Linked DNA regions of Homo sapiens: region 2 is linked to region 1. The links are contacts of gene promoters, found by promoter capture Hi-C in human tissues and cell types (Jung and others, 2019). All regions are on one chromosome and are shown on one strand. The core of a region is centred on a gene start or on the middle of the fragment in contact, and the rest is flanking DNA. Distances in the headings are between cores, read along the strand shown. Region 1 holds the start of LRRFIP1 (LRR binding FLII interacting protein 1). Region 2 has its middle 31 kb from the start of COPS8.

Region 1 (6,961 bases), core at 2,052-4,551:
CCACAGTGGCAGCCCGGGAAAGCCAAGGCCAGCTGGCCTCCATGAAGCAAGTCAGCCTGAGGATGAGGCCACCCACAGAGGATGGCCCAGCCCAACCAGCTGCGCAGGTGCTGTGGGAAAAAGAGGCCGGAGCCACTGGTGAGGCTGGCGGGGAATCCTGCCCTGCCTCCGGGCTTGCTGTGCTCCAGCCAATATACTTCCCCTTGTCAATGTCAGTCCAGTCAGGGTTTCTGTCCCAGCAGCCAAAGCATCTTGACTGGTACATACAGCCTTCAAGAACTCAAAATGCCACTTCCTCCAGGAAGCCACTTCTGAGACCACTGGCCGGCTGTGATTCTCTCTCATGTCCAAACCTTCAGAACACTGTCTACGCCCTTTTTATATCAGATCCCTTCCTGTCTTCGGTTAGCATTATTGATCTACAGGTGTCAACCCCTTTCTGACCCAACTCCTGGAGGGCAGGCAGGTCCTCGCCGGGTTCCTCCCTGACTCTCCAGTCTCCCCAGGACAGGAATTTGGATACCATGGCTTGTATCTGTTGAGTCAATGAGTGAATAAGAAAGTACTGAACCCAAGACGATTTTGTTGATTTCTATAAGAACCCTGATGAATTCAAGGAGTAGATATTTGCCATTTGAATAGTGATTTTCATTTTCACAGTTGAGAAATAGAAGTTAATTTGTACTAAAACATAAGATGTCACACCTGCTCCCTCCAACCCTATCAATCTGTGCTACTCAGCACTAGTAACAGCTGCACCTACGGCTGGGTTTTACCGGGAGGGGCGTGTAAGAAGCTCTCATATTTACCCACCGCCTAGTTACATACTTTACATTGCTACCCACTTTCTTTAATTCTGACAGCCAGGGGAGGTTTCTTCTTCTCCATTTTAGAGACGAGAAAACAGAGGCCCAGAGAAGAGTGAGTAACTCACCTTCCTAGGATGGCACAGCTGGCTAAGAACTATGTCATTTGAAAGCCCAGCTCTGACTCACAAGTCTATCTCTGTAACTCCAACTGCATCTCCCTCGGTGGGAGGGAGGACCTCAGGGCTCTCAACCCAAGGAGTGTTCCCTTGCCTTCCTTTTCAATCTATTTTATAAAAACCAGCAGATAGGCTGGGCGCAGTGGCTTACGCCTGTAATCCCAGCACTTTGAGAGGCCAAGGCGGGAAGATCACTTGAGGCCAGGAGTTTGAGACCAGCCTGGCCAACACGGTGAAACCCCGTCTCTATTAAAAATACAAAAATTAGCCGGGTGTGGTGGTGCGTGCCTGTAATCCCAGCTACTGGTGAGGCTGAGGCAGGAGGATCTCTTGAGCCTGGGAGGTGGAGGTTGCAGTGAGCCGAGATCATACCACTGTACTCCAGCCTGGGCAACAGAGTGAGACTGTGTTAAAAAAAAAAAAAAAAAAAAAAAAGAAGAAAGAAACACCAGTGGATAAAAGGCAAACTCTGGAAATTTTCATTCTTCTCATTCTTCTGCCCCATAACCACTGACATCAAGACAAGGCTTGCGATTCACTGGCCACCTCTGGCCCTTGCAGGGAACACTTGTAAGGCACTGTGGTCAAATGCATACATAAGTGACTGTCTTCACAGGAGGGAGTTATACTCAAGCTACTATATTTAGCAAATGTCTATATTTAGCCAAAGGTCCTTTAAATGCCTTGTACTTCTTTTGTTTATTAATTAATGTAACAGACATAGACAAACACCTAGTATGTGCCTGGCTCTGTGCTGAGCTCTTGGGATACAAAAGTAAGATATTTCCTGTCTGGGTGTCACCTTCTACAGGTGGACAAATAATGATAAGGTATCCTGACTGCCATGCCAGGCGCGGGCATGCCATGGAGGGCCGTGGAGCCAGGGAGACTTAGGCCTGGTGCGATGTGAGAGGGCTGAGTCTGGAAGGTCTCCTGGAGGTCACAGTGGGCTTCCAGGAATGAATAAGGGTTTGCCTGGAAAGCCCTTTTCTGTATCATACAGAGAAAAACAGAAGTCTTTATTCACTCAGTAGTCAACAAATACTGAGTGACTGCCACATGTCCGTAAGAGCAAAATCAGGTATTTACAACTACAAACACCTAAGGATTGGTTACAGAGTAGATCCCCCAGAATATCTGACGGATACAGCCAGACACCACAGTCCAAATGGCTTGGAGGTGTTTCCTGTGGGAAGAATCACATGTGGAAAAGCCAACACGGAAAAGAACCTGTAAGGCGGGTTACAAGGCAGAGACTTTCTTTGCATTCATACACCCACCTGGCACACAGTTCAAATGGTACAAAGGGAACACAGTCAAAAATTAAGCTTCCTTTGTCCCCCTGGGGCCGCAACCTATTGGCTCCCCTTTTCCCAAGCTGCTGCTCTCTGTCCCTGTACGGCTTTCTGGATGTCATGTACATTCTTTAGCCTTAAGGTAGAATCCTTGCGGAAGGAAAAAAAAAAAGGCATTTGTACAAATACCCATTCTAGTGCGCCTTCAATTTGTCACAGGTAAAGTTCATCACCAAACATGATCTTAGTTACAATAAACTCTGTCCAGGAAACTTTAATGAAGACGTTTCAGTGTGCCTGGACCCGTTTCCAGGCTCAGTCCTGAAAGAAAAATCACAGTGATCCCCAAGTTCATCTCTGAGCTGCACCTTGAGTGACATCGATGGATGGATGACAAATGGTCACCTGAGCGACTCGGCCATTTCAGCAGGGCCATGTGGCCTCCGGCGACCGTCCACTGCCTCCAGGTCGGGCCTAAGCCCCCGCCTCCTCCCATGCCGCACAACAAAGCGGGGCGCTCGCCCCCACCCGGCCAGCCCGGGCCACCTCGCGCGCTGGCGGCGCCCGGCTCCTCTCCCGAGGGCGCAGCGGCCGACGGTGGCCGGGGTGGGGGAGGGCGCGCAGCGTCGCGGGCTGGGCCCGGGGCTGGAGAACGGGTGCGGGGTCCGCAGGCCTCGGAGATCGGGGCCGGGGCGCAGCGCCTGGGGATCAGCGCCCCGGCGCGCGCCTGCCCGGCCCACCCGCCTGGAGCCGGACGCGCAGTGGCACAGACGCACAGCGGGACAGACGGACGCCGGAGAGACCCTGACAGCCGTCCGGCCCCCGCGCCCGCCCGGCGCCCCCCGGCTGCCCTCCCGGAGCGCTCACCTCCCGCGCGATCTGGTTGAGCGCGTCGTCCTCCGCCGTGAGCCGCTCCCGGTTGGGGAGCCGCTTGCGCCCCGATCCCTGGGTGCCCATGTCCATCGACCGCGTCGCCCGCAGCTGCCGCGGGGCCCGTTGCTCCAGCCGCTCGCGCCGCCCCGGCCCGGCCCCGGCCCCGGCCCCTCCCTCCGCCGCGGCGTCATGGCGTCAGCGGGCGCTGGGCCGGGGACGCGGGGACGCGGGGGGACGGGGGCCGCGGGGACCCGGGGGAAGCCAGAGCCGGAGGTCCGCAGCGCGGGCCAGGGACTGCAGGGGCCAGGGACGGCGGGGCGGGGGACGGGGGCGGGGGGCGGAGACGCCAGGTGTCAGGGACGATGGGGGTCCGATACCACGGGGACGCTGCGGATGCCCAGGGCCGGGCACGCGGGACCTGAGGGACCGGGAGCCCCGGAGGGTGGACTTTGCGGGGACTGTTTGGCGGGCCGGTAATCGCGGAGCGACGCGCGCCAGGGCGGTGGGCACCGGTTGAGTGGGGACCTGAGCGGAGAGCGGGGGGGTAGGAAGGCTTTCAGAGGCCTGAGTTGCCTTGAGGGGTTTGCACGGAGGGGTGAGCACAGGATTTGGTTCAGCCTGGCGCTCCCCATTCCGCGGTGAGTCGGGGTGGAAGTCCCTCGCCGGGGTGAGAGCTAGGCTCTGGGGTCAGGCCGAGAGGTGCTCGGATCCGCCCGCCACCGCCGCTCCTGTGACCTTGGCCAGCCTCCTGGGCGCCGGCTTCACAGCGGCATGGTGTGGATGTGTGCGTTTCTGTCTTTACACGCGTGTTCTCCGTGCTAGCATCCATCCTTCTCCCCGCTGTCTGCCCCCTGAGATCAAGGACTTGTCACTTCTCTGGTGGGTCCCCAGCCTCTAGGATCGGGGCAGGTGCGTCGCAGCTCTCTCCTAGTTGTTGAAAAAGTAATGAACTTACCTGTGCTCTCTGAAGCTCACAGTCTATGCTCCAGAGGTGGATTTAAAAGTAAAGCAAATCGGAGGATTAGGTAGGGGTTAAAAGCCCCTGCCTAGGGCACGGCAGGAGCACCGGGTGGGAAAGTTACTGGTGTGTTTGGGGTATGGGGAGAACTTCAGTGTGGCTGGACCTGGGGAAGGATGGGAGGGAGGGTAGTGATGGTAGAGGAGAGGAGGCTGTACTGAAGTCACCTGTGATTTTTTTCCCCCAGTGATAAGGACAGTTAACATTTCGGTGTATTTCCCACCAAGTGGTGTGACCAGATTGCTTTGGATTCTTAAGGAGGTGGCCTGGAAGCTGTATGAAGGTGGGAAGAGGAAGAGGGCCCTTCCACCCACAGTGGCAGGGAAAGCTGTTGGAGGTTTCATTGCAGGGAAAAGACAGCGAGTCCAGTGACATGGGAGGGAGGGCAGATCCAGGTGACATTGCTCTGGGTGCCTGAGCTGACGCAGGTGGGTTGGCAGGGCTGACTGTGGCATTGTTCATGACTGAACTCCGGGAGCAGAAACTGCACCTGCACATTGTAGGCACTAAGGAAATAGGTGTTGACTGAATCTTCCAGGCCATATTTACATTACTTCAGAGGCCATACTCCTTAAGTGACATAGTCCTCCTTGGGGGAAACCTTGAGCCGTGGCCACTTGCACTGCCTTGGTCTTGCTGGTGGCTGCTCACTGTTTCCCAGCCCCTGGGGCACTGTGGGGACTGTGCGTCTTTGCCGAGGCTGGTCCCCATGAGTTCACTCATTCCTGCACCCACACCTGCTGCCTGCCAGCTGCTGAGCTGGAGGCTGGGGCATAGCTGTCCGAGAGGCAGACACGGCTGCTGCCTCTCAGGGCTGACTTGAGATGCCTGGAGCTCCTTAACTAAAGCCATATCCAAGTTCCAACGTCTCCTTTCTAAAAGAAGTCTCCCTTTGCTCCCTGTCCTTCATTGGAACTTTGAGCCACTTTTTGCTAACACCTAAATCCTCCATCCTGATGTGTTGAGGCCAGGAGGGCAGGCGCTGACCCCATCTTCCTCATCTTTAAGCCTTCACCAGGGACTGGCTGTGCCAGTTGCTTAGTGGAGTGCAGTGGTTGAACTTGTGGAACAGAGTTCAGTTCCCAACCCTCCTCCCCACTTTCCCTGTTGGATTGTTGTCCAGAGACAGGAGATTCACTGCCGTGGGGACTGGCCAGAGGTGTGTCTGAACAGCTCCCGCTGGTAGACAGTGTTCTCGGACACTGTGGTGAATTCAGCTTCCTGCCCCTCCCCCATCATCTGTCCACTTCCAGAAAAGAGCCGCCTTTCAGAAATCATCAGAAACAACATTGCTGGGTCCTCCCATGACCCCATGACATAACAACTTCCTGGCTACAGTCCTCTTCCCCTGGCGATGTGCTCTCAGAGTGGACCGGTTCTCACTTCAGAGTCAGTTTCCGCCTCTAAATGGAAATACGGGTGCCCACTGTCTTAGTTCCTTTGTGCTGCTGTAACAGAACGCCTTAGACAGGGTCATTTATAAAACCACGGAAATGTATTGTTCACAGCTGTGGAGGCTGGGAAGTCCAGCATCAAGCCTCCAGCAGAATCAGTGTCTGGTTGAGGCCCATTCCTCACAGATGGTGCCTTCTGTGTGTCATCTCATGGTGGAAGACGGGCTCCCTCCAGGCTTTTGTGTAAGGGCACTCATCGCGTTCATGAGGTCTCTGCTTCAGGACCTGGTCACCTGCAGGCCCCACCTTGCATTGAGGGTTAGGTTTTGACATATGAATGGGGGGGCCACCGCCATCCAGACCATGGCCTCTACCTTGTCAGGGTAGGGACAGTATTCTAGGCAAGAGCCCTTCCAGGGCTTCACACACAGGCAATCGATCAATCATCCTTACAGCTCCTGTCCTCAAAGGCCCAGGTCTGGAATGAATGGTGAACAGCAGTTCCTGTCTGGGCAGAGGGGAGCTAGACAGAGGTATCAGGCAGCTTGGTGGGTCTTCTCCGTGCTTGGGGTGCCTCCTGGAGGAAGATAAAGACCTGCAAGACTCCATCATGCTGATCCATGGGTTCACCGAAAAATTGTGGCTTTTCCTCCACCCTTGACCGTCGGCCCTCCCTGCGTGGAAGTGCATGAGCCTGTTTCCACTGAGAAGACTGGCCTCTGCCACCAGCACTACTGACCCCTCCCATCTAGCCCTTTTCCTATTCCAGATGGTGACACTACCCACCAGGGCTTACTTCAGAGCAGGAAATTGAGAAACTATATCACAGATCTGATGTCCAGGGCCAGAGAATTAACATGTTCATCTCCAAGCCTGGTACCAAGTCCCTTCACAAAAATACAGATGCCACCTTCAGGAAGCCTCCACGAGAAAGTGGAGGCAGCCAGGGAAGCCTTGGCAAGGGAAACCACACAGCGGCGCCGTCCCCAGCGCAAGTTTGCCTTGGTTCAGGAGCTCAGTGGGCAAGCCCTGGGGGCTGGCTGGGAAAGGAAGTTGATGAGCAGCTACGGAGGGGCGTCCAGTCTGCATGAGGACTCAGAGCTTCTCAGGCAGAGAGCCATCTGAGCCATCATGTGGGCCATAACGTGACTCACTCTGGGTCCATTGAGAGCATCATCCGCGTGGGCCTACCTCAAACCTCTTTCACCAGCACTCCAGCCTTGCTCTTCCAGTTCCCAGAGGATGGAAAGCCCTGCTTTGGATTACAGCTGGAGCAGGGCAGGAGAACTGCAGCCCCCCCCCAGGAATGCTGAAGGACCCGTAGAGGAGAGCCATCTCTCACGCATGGAACTTGGAGCCAGCACTCTGCCCAGAAGTGGGGCTGGCTGAGGTCAGG
Region 2 (6,961 bases), core at 3,346-5,845, 510 kb after region 1:
TACACGAGTCGTTTTCTCTGCCTCCTTCTCATACTGTCGCCCCAGAGGCACAGGCCCCAAGCAAGTGCACAGTGAGGGCTGAAATGGAGAGACTGTAAATCCTCAGAGCTGCTGCCCCAAGCATCAGGGTGCTCAAGAATCACTGGGGTCTTGTTAAATGCAGATTTGATTCAGTGTGTCTGGACTGGGGCTTCCAGGCGATGCCCAACTTGTGGTCCAGGAAGCACACTTTGAGAATATTTTTCACAACTGAACCTTTCATAAAACCTGGATACAGAGTGTTTGGGGTTAATTTTCTGATGAGAGCTGGGTGCTCTCACATTCTATGCGGCAGTCAAAGGCAGGGCCACATGGTTTGAATGTGCAGGGCCAACCTAACGGTCTCTGATGATATTAACAGGCTGGACCAGGGCTGGAGCTTGCAGCTAAAGCCACTGCACTTCTCCAAGCAGAGGGGCCATGGCACTGCTCACCCCCTAGCCATTCCCTTATGCCAACACTGCAGGTGACCGGCTTTTATTCTTAGTCGATGTCCAGGATAATTTTGTTAGGTTTTGTATATTTTAATTTTTGCTTAAATTTAGCATACATGTGGATTTGATCATTTAAACTGGTGAGTGACAAGTGTGTGACAAGCCCCTAAAATAACGCCTTGGCTGGGTCTTTTAAATAATTTTTGTTCTCTTCATCCTCACAAAATAACTAATGGGTACTGCGCTTAATACCTGGGTGATGAAATAATCTGTATAAGAAACCCACATGACACAAGCCTACCTATGTAACAAACCTGTACATGTACCCCTCAACTTAAAATAAACGTTAAAAATTGTTCTTAATTATTAGGAATTCAGCCTCTAATTCCCCATAGATTTTCTTCCTTGCCAAGTCTTAGTAAACTTATCCATTCCACTCATATGACAAAAGAACTGACGACTCAAGGGCCAAACAAACTATTTAAAAAGCAAGAACATGAAGAAAACCTTTTTTTCAAAAATATCTAATAACTCAAGAGCACTTCTTCGGCCCTTAGAAAAGACTTATTTAAGCCTTTGAAGGGACTGCGTTTCAGCCAGCAGTGATGGTGATCGGACATTCAAGGAATGAAGTGGTAGGAATGACCCTACACACCAAGTGAGTTATGGCAGCACATTGTAAACAACAAGACACCGGGTGACAGCGAGGAGTGAGAATCAAGCAGATGTTTGGCTCTGGCTAAGCACATGCTTTACACATCTCAACTCAAGAGGGTTTTCAAACACAGCATCAACCCCATGTGTTTGGTTTTCCTTGTCAGAGCCCTTCTGCTATCTTGAGGAAGGGATGGGTGGAAATACAGAAAAGCTGCCCTGCACAGATTCCTGCATCTACATCCACAGCTCCAGTCACATGAAAGACACCAGACGCAGCATCAAAACATTTAGCCAAGATAATGTTGACAATGTAAGATAATGTTGAAAACTAAAGCTTCCTAATCTTTTGAAGTTGGTCCATATTAAATTGCCTCAGGCAAAGTTAAGGCAGTTGAGGCCACACTCCCATATTTCCATTTACATTCTTTGTATTTTATGACAGAAATACATTGAAAATCTTGTTCACCAGTCTGCTAAAAATCAGGGTTATAAGGGGAGACATCCAACAGGCTTAAGGCTCCCAAATGGATTTGGAATTTTTTGGACCTTACTCGATTGACCTCATTCACTGCCCAACCTCACAAACAACCTAATTCAGTTTTCAAACCATGTTATTTAACCGACACAGGATAGCCATGAAGAGGTTCTTATTACCTTATGCATTATTATGCACTGGGCATTTTGCCCTTTGTCCTGAATTGCTCTTCTTAGAGATCAGGTGCAGGTGCACAATTAGGAGAACATTATTCAATCAAAACTGTTTTTGGCAATTCCTCCCATCATGTGACTCACAAGTTAAAAATGGTCCAGTTCCTCTTTCATTTAGAATGAAATCTTTTCCTGCAGCTCCACCCAGGAGAAAAAATCATGATTCACATTCAGGATGCACATATGCTGGTCAGGTGGGTGCACACAACATGCTCATTCAAGTCCACTCATTTCTTAAAAAGATGTCCAAAGACTCCTGGCTTCCCACTATCTCAATTGACCCAGGAGAATGTCATCAATCATTTACATGAATAAAATGTCCACCCTGGTTTTAGCTTGTCTTTAGATATTTGGATAAAACTACACAATCTTTTCCACTAATTTTGAAAGCTTCCTTTACTTAGAGAAGCAACAAATTCAGAGGAAAGTTACTACTTTGCTCAACCACAAATATGATGCAGATTACTCAAAAGTTATTGACTCTAGCAAAACGGCAAACCCTTACCTTTCTCCAACTGCAGTGATAGCAAGGGTTCTCAGGTGAGAGGAAATCCAGGCATGGCATTTGTTAACAAGGAGGTACTTACTCCAGTTCATGGGCTGCTCAGCTAAGAGGCAATAGATGCCTTTCTTCCCCCTGCTTTTCAATGCAGAGTTTAATTGTGGGTTGTAAAAATCCCCCAGACACACTAAAAGCTAGAAGACTCCTGGAAAACTGCTAATCTCTCCAGGAGGTGTATTTGCCCTTGCTGCTATCATTTGGATGGATGGGGGCAGTGGGGATGGATGCTATCAGGTGGAATTCTGTTCTTCCTGCTTTTGCTATAAAAGGTGGAGACAGGTTAAGGGGAGGGGAGTCCTGGTAACTGTCCTAACATAACCAGTGCCTGAACATTCCTTCAAAACAGCCTTGATCAGTGGTTATTGAACTTGGCTTCAACGGTATCTGACTGATGGGATCCTCACACTATCTGAGACCATCTAGACCATCACCAACTGATACGCACAAGTTGTGTGGCTACTGAGCACTTGGAATGTGGAAGTCCAAATTGGGCTGTGCCACAAATGTAAAATACACATGGGATTTCAAAGATGTAGTATAAAGAAAAGAATGTAAAATATCTCATTAATATTTTTGTATTGATGACATGTTGAACTAATAATATTTTTGATTGGCTAAATAAGATTGTTGTTAAAATTAATTTTATCTGTTTTTCTTTTTCACCTTTTTACTGTGGCATCCAGAAAATTTAAAGTTACATATGTGAGGTGTGTCTTCTAACTCTATTAGACAGTGCTGGTCTAGGCAGTTAAATAGCTCTTCTTTGTGTTGAGTCAAAACTGGTCTTTCTAACCTTCTTGATTTTGCCTTCTGAAGCAATAAACAAAATTATTCCACATGGTGGTCAGTCCAATATCTGAAGACAATCATCATCCCCACCCATCTTTTCTTCTCATGCTGAATAGCCTTTCCTTTTGCAAACATTCCTTCTATGACATGTGTTAAAAATTATTTATCCAAAACTTGGAAAATGTCAAAATGATTGTTGTTATCTTTCTGAACAATTTCTTTAATAAGCCCAGTTGACCTTCATTGAGCTCTCTCAGGGAGTGTAACTTTGATTTTACAGGGCTGTAAAACATCTGGTTCCTTATCAGTTACGGATAGTTGCTCTGAGTTTAACTTGCAGAAAGTAGAGAGTGAGAAATGTTCTTATAACCTGAGATGAAAGGCAAAAATTCTGCAAATGGATTTCTGGGAATTATGTGAGGACATTAAACTGAGCTTCTTCTCATGCCCCTGCATCTAGCTGTTGGGGACCTAACTCCATATTGGTTGTGGCTCAGTTTAGTGCATATTCCATCTCTTGGAAGAAAGCATGCCAACCCGTCATGCTAGTACAATTGCTGAGCCTTGAATAGGCCATTCCACCATTCTATTAAGCTAGATACTTCTGTGTAAGGAAAACTTAAAACCAATGAAACGGTCATGCACCCATTGTCACATCTCCCTGTTCATAAAATGGGTCTCTTGGACTGACGTGATGCTCTGTAGGATTTATTGTTAATAGATGAGACTTTTGTATGTTCTTAGAAGGTGGTGCTGGAGAAGGCACTCACAGTGCATGTAAGGCAAACCCATACTTGGAGTAGGTGCCAATTCCAGTAAGGATGTGACGCTGTTCTTCCCATGGTAGAAGGGGCCAATATAACCAACTACTGGTATCTTCAGTGCTGCCAAGTGGTATCTAGTTTCCTTCTGGAACAGTCATAGTTGACGGCTTCACATCACTCTGCACTGACTCCAGGTCCACAGAGGAAGAAGCAAGATCAGCCTTGGTGATGGAGAACTCACGCTGCCTGGCCCATGTGTAAACCCCATTCCTGCTACTATTATGACTCTATTTATGGACACATTGTGCCAACACAGGGATGAGTGAAGACAGCCTGGCCCACAGGCAAAAGACAAGTTAACTTGTCCACTTCATAGATGACTTTTTCCCGGTCTGGTGAGTGTTCTCTGGTGGGCATTGATGTGAAACACATAGATTTACTTACTGTGCGCCCACTCCTACAAGTCCATTCGTGATCTCTTTCCCAGACCTCTTTATCTCCAATTTCCTGATCTTTCTCCTTTCAGGCCTCTGATACACAAGCCTAGCCACTTGCCACTGTCTTATACCTAATGTTAAATGACGAGTTAATGGGTGCAGCACACCAGCATGGCACATGTATACATATGTAACTAACCTGCACATTGTGCACATGTACCCTAAAACTTAAAGTATAATAATAAAAAGAAACAGATGCAAAAAAAAGACAAAAAATAAATAAATAAAGTTCATTCTGCTGGCTGCTGCTACCTCTGTTCAAAGTGAATGGCCAAATGCACGGCTCAAAAATCTGTCCACTTGGAGTATTTCCCCTCACTGCTATCCTTTATGTCCACCACTGAGTGGGCTTGAAATATGGCAGGAGTGCATTTTTAGGCTTGTATCAACATGTCAAGCTGACCTGTTTGTGAATCAGGCCTGGGTTTTTGCTTCCTCCATCAGCAAGTCAGAAGAAACCTCCAATAAAACTATACATGTGAATTGAGAGAGAGGTGTTGGTACAACAGAGGTAAGAGCTATGAAAGTCTAGGTCACCTGATTAGCTATTTGTAATTGTACGTGCTTGGATCTGCTATCAAATTTACCATTTTCACTGACCAATAAATTTCTGCTGTACCCACAAACTTTTAAATCTGAAAATAGGCAGTTACAGCCCACCCATTGAAATCCTAATTTTGTTTTTCTTTTGGAGAAATTCTAGTTAATTCTTTTTCATATATGCCAGGCATGTTTTGATGTCTCTTGCTCACTCTTCATATTTTAATGTCTTGACTTTTAAAAATATTTGAAAAAATTATTTAAACATACACTTAAATAGTTTCGTAAAATAAACATGTTGTTAAACATGCTTTAACATACTTAAACATATAAAACATTTTCATAATTATAATTTCACACCCAATGTCTTTGAGGCTTTAATTCTATGGCTTTTAATTTATGCTGATTCCTATTCATAATGGCTTATTATGCACTGTTTAGTTTTGGATTGTGAACTCATCTTTCTTGGAACCCTATCTATGGCAATTCATTCAGGCATTGAGCTAAATATATTGCCAGGTATTTGCTTTTGTTTCCAGACAACCTTCTGAAGACAGACTTGTGTACTCACATCCCCTTCCCATTACTTCTTACTTGCTCCCCTACTGCAGAATCTTCTAGAGTGGAAGGATTTTTCTCTAGTTCATCTTTCCAAGGCATTATCTTTAAGATGTCCTACTGTATGTGAGTTGAATGATCTTACTTACCTCATCAAATATAAGGTTTTGTCTCCTGCGCCCTTCATATCAGTGGCCCCAAATAACAGAGGTTCTAGGCCATCAAGATTGGTGGCTCCAGTGCTAGAGTATAGTTGTTTCTGGCCTTTGAGAATGTCCCTATTTTACTGTCAGCTCATCGATGTATATTTAAAAATAACTTTAATACTTTAAATAGCGTTTTAGTTGTTCTAGACTGGGAGGTTTTCTCCAGACATTTAATTAACTATATTAGCAGAAATAGATGTTAACCTTATATTTTAGCATGCACATTTAACTTAAAGTTTAAAATTAATTTGTATCTTTTCCCCTACATGAACATTTCAAAGATTTAGGATTAACATACTGGACAATAATAGTTACAAGTTTGGAGGCATCTTATTTTTAAATGGTTCTAATTTAATAACTCTCAATCAAGGGTAGGGACGATGAAAATCTTCAGAAGACTTTTTCAAGTGTTACTACATGTAATGAATGTGTCGTATATGTTAATAATATGAAGGCCAAACAATGTTGAGAATTAAGTGTTCTCATTGATGAAATCATCTTCTTATAAAATTGGCTCTAGTATTACTGACCTATACATCCAACAAAAATATATATAAATATATATACAAAACTATATATATGTATATATTCTAAATTTAGTTTATGTTCTTAAAAGGAAACTTTCTTTTACAACCACAGTAAAATCAACAAAATCAGGAAAATCAGTGTACTATAAAATGATCTCATCCAAAGGCTGGAAAACTTTCTACATAGGGTCAAATAGTAAATATTTTAGCCTTTAAAGAACATACAGTTTGTGTTACAACTACTGAATTCCACTGTTGTAGTGTGCAAGTAGCTACAGATGATGCATAAATCAATGGGTGTGGCTGTGTTCCAAAAACACATTTGCAAAAATAAGCATTGACCTGGTTTGGTCCCACAAGCTATAGTTTGCCAACTCCTGATCTAATCTACAGAGTTAATTCTGATTTTGCTAATTTTCCAATCATGCGCGTTATAGCATTGCGTTGAGTTGTGCCTCTTTAGTTTCTTTTGATCTGGATAGTTTTTCAATCTTTCTTTGTATTTCATGAAATTGACATTCCTGAAGAATGCAAGATAGTTGTTTTTGTAAATTATCCCTCATTTTGGGTTTGTGTGATGCTTCTTCATTATTAGATTCAGGATTTACATTTTGGACATGGATACCACAGAATTGATGTGTTCTCTTCAGTGGTTTGTAGTAGAAAGCACATGATGCTGA

What was found. The method cuts DNA at HindIII sites, captures the fragments that hold promoters and counts their contacts. A contact is called where the count stands out against the background at its distance.
Region 2: a fragment that was not itself captured here is called in contact with the fragment with the promoter of LRRFIP1 in region 1 in 2 of the 25 tissues and cell types used here (IMR-90 fibroblasts and mesenchymal stem cells).

Annotation. Positions count from the first base shown.
Region 1 is chr2:237,623,927-237,630,887 of GRCh38, reverse strand. It overlaps LRRFIP1 (LRR binding FLII interacting protein 1), which reads right to left and starts at 3,301. Exons shown (of 24, transcript NM_001137550.2): 1 at 3,148-3,301. The coding sequence starts at 3,243. The HindIII fragment of the contact is 12,440 bases long and covers 1-6,961 here.
Region 2 is chr2:237,113,214-237,120,174 of GRCh38, reverse strand. No RefSeq gene overlaps it. Among named protein-coding and RNA genes, the nearest start is that of COPS8, 31 kb to the right of the region's middle. The HindIII fragment of the contact is 5,497 bases long and covers 1,847-6,961 here.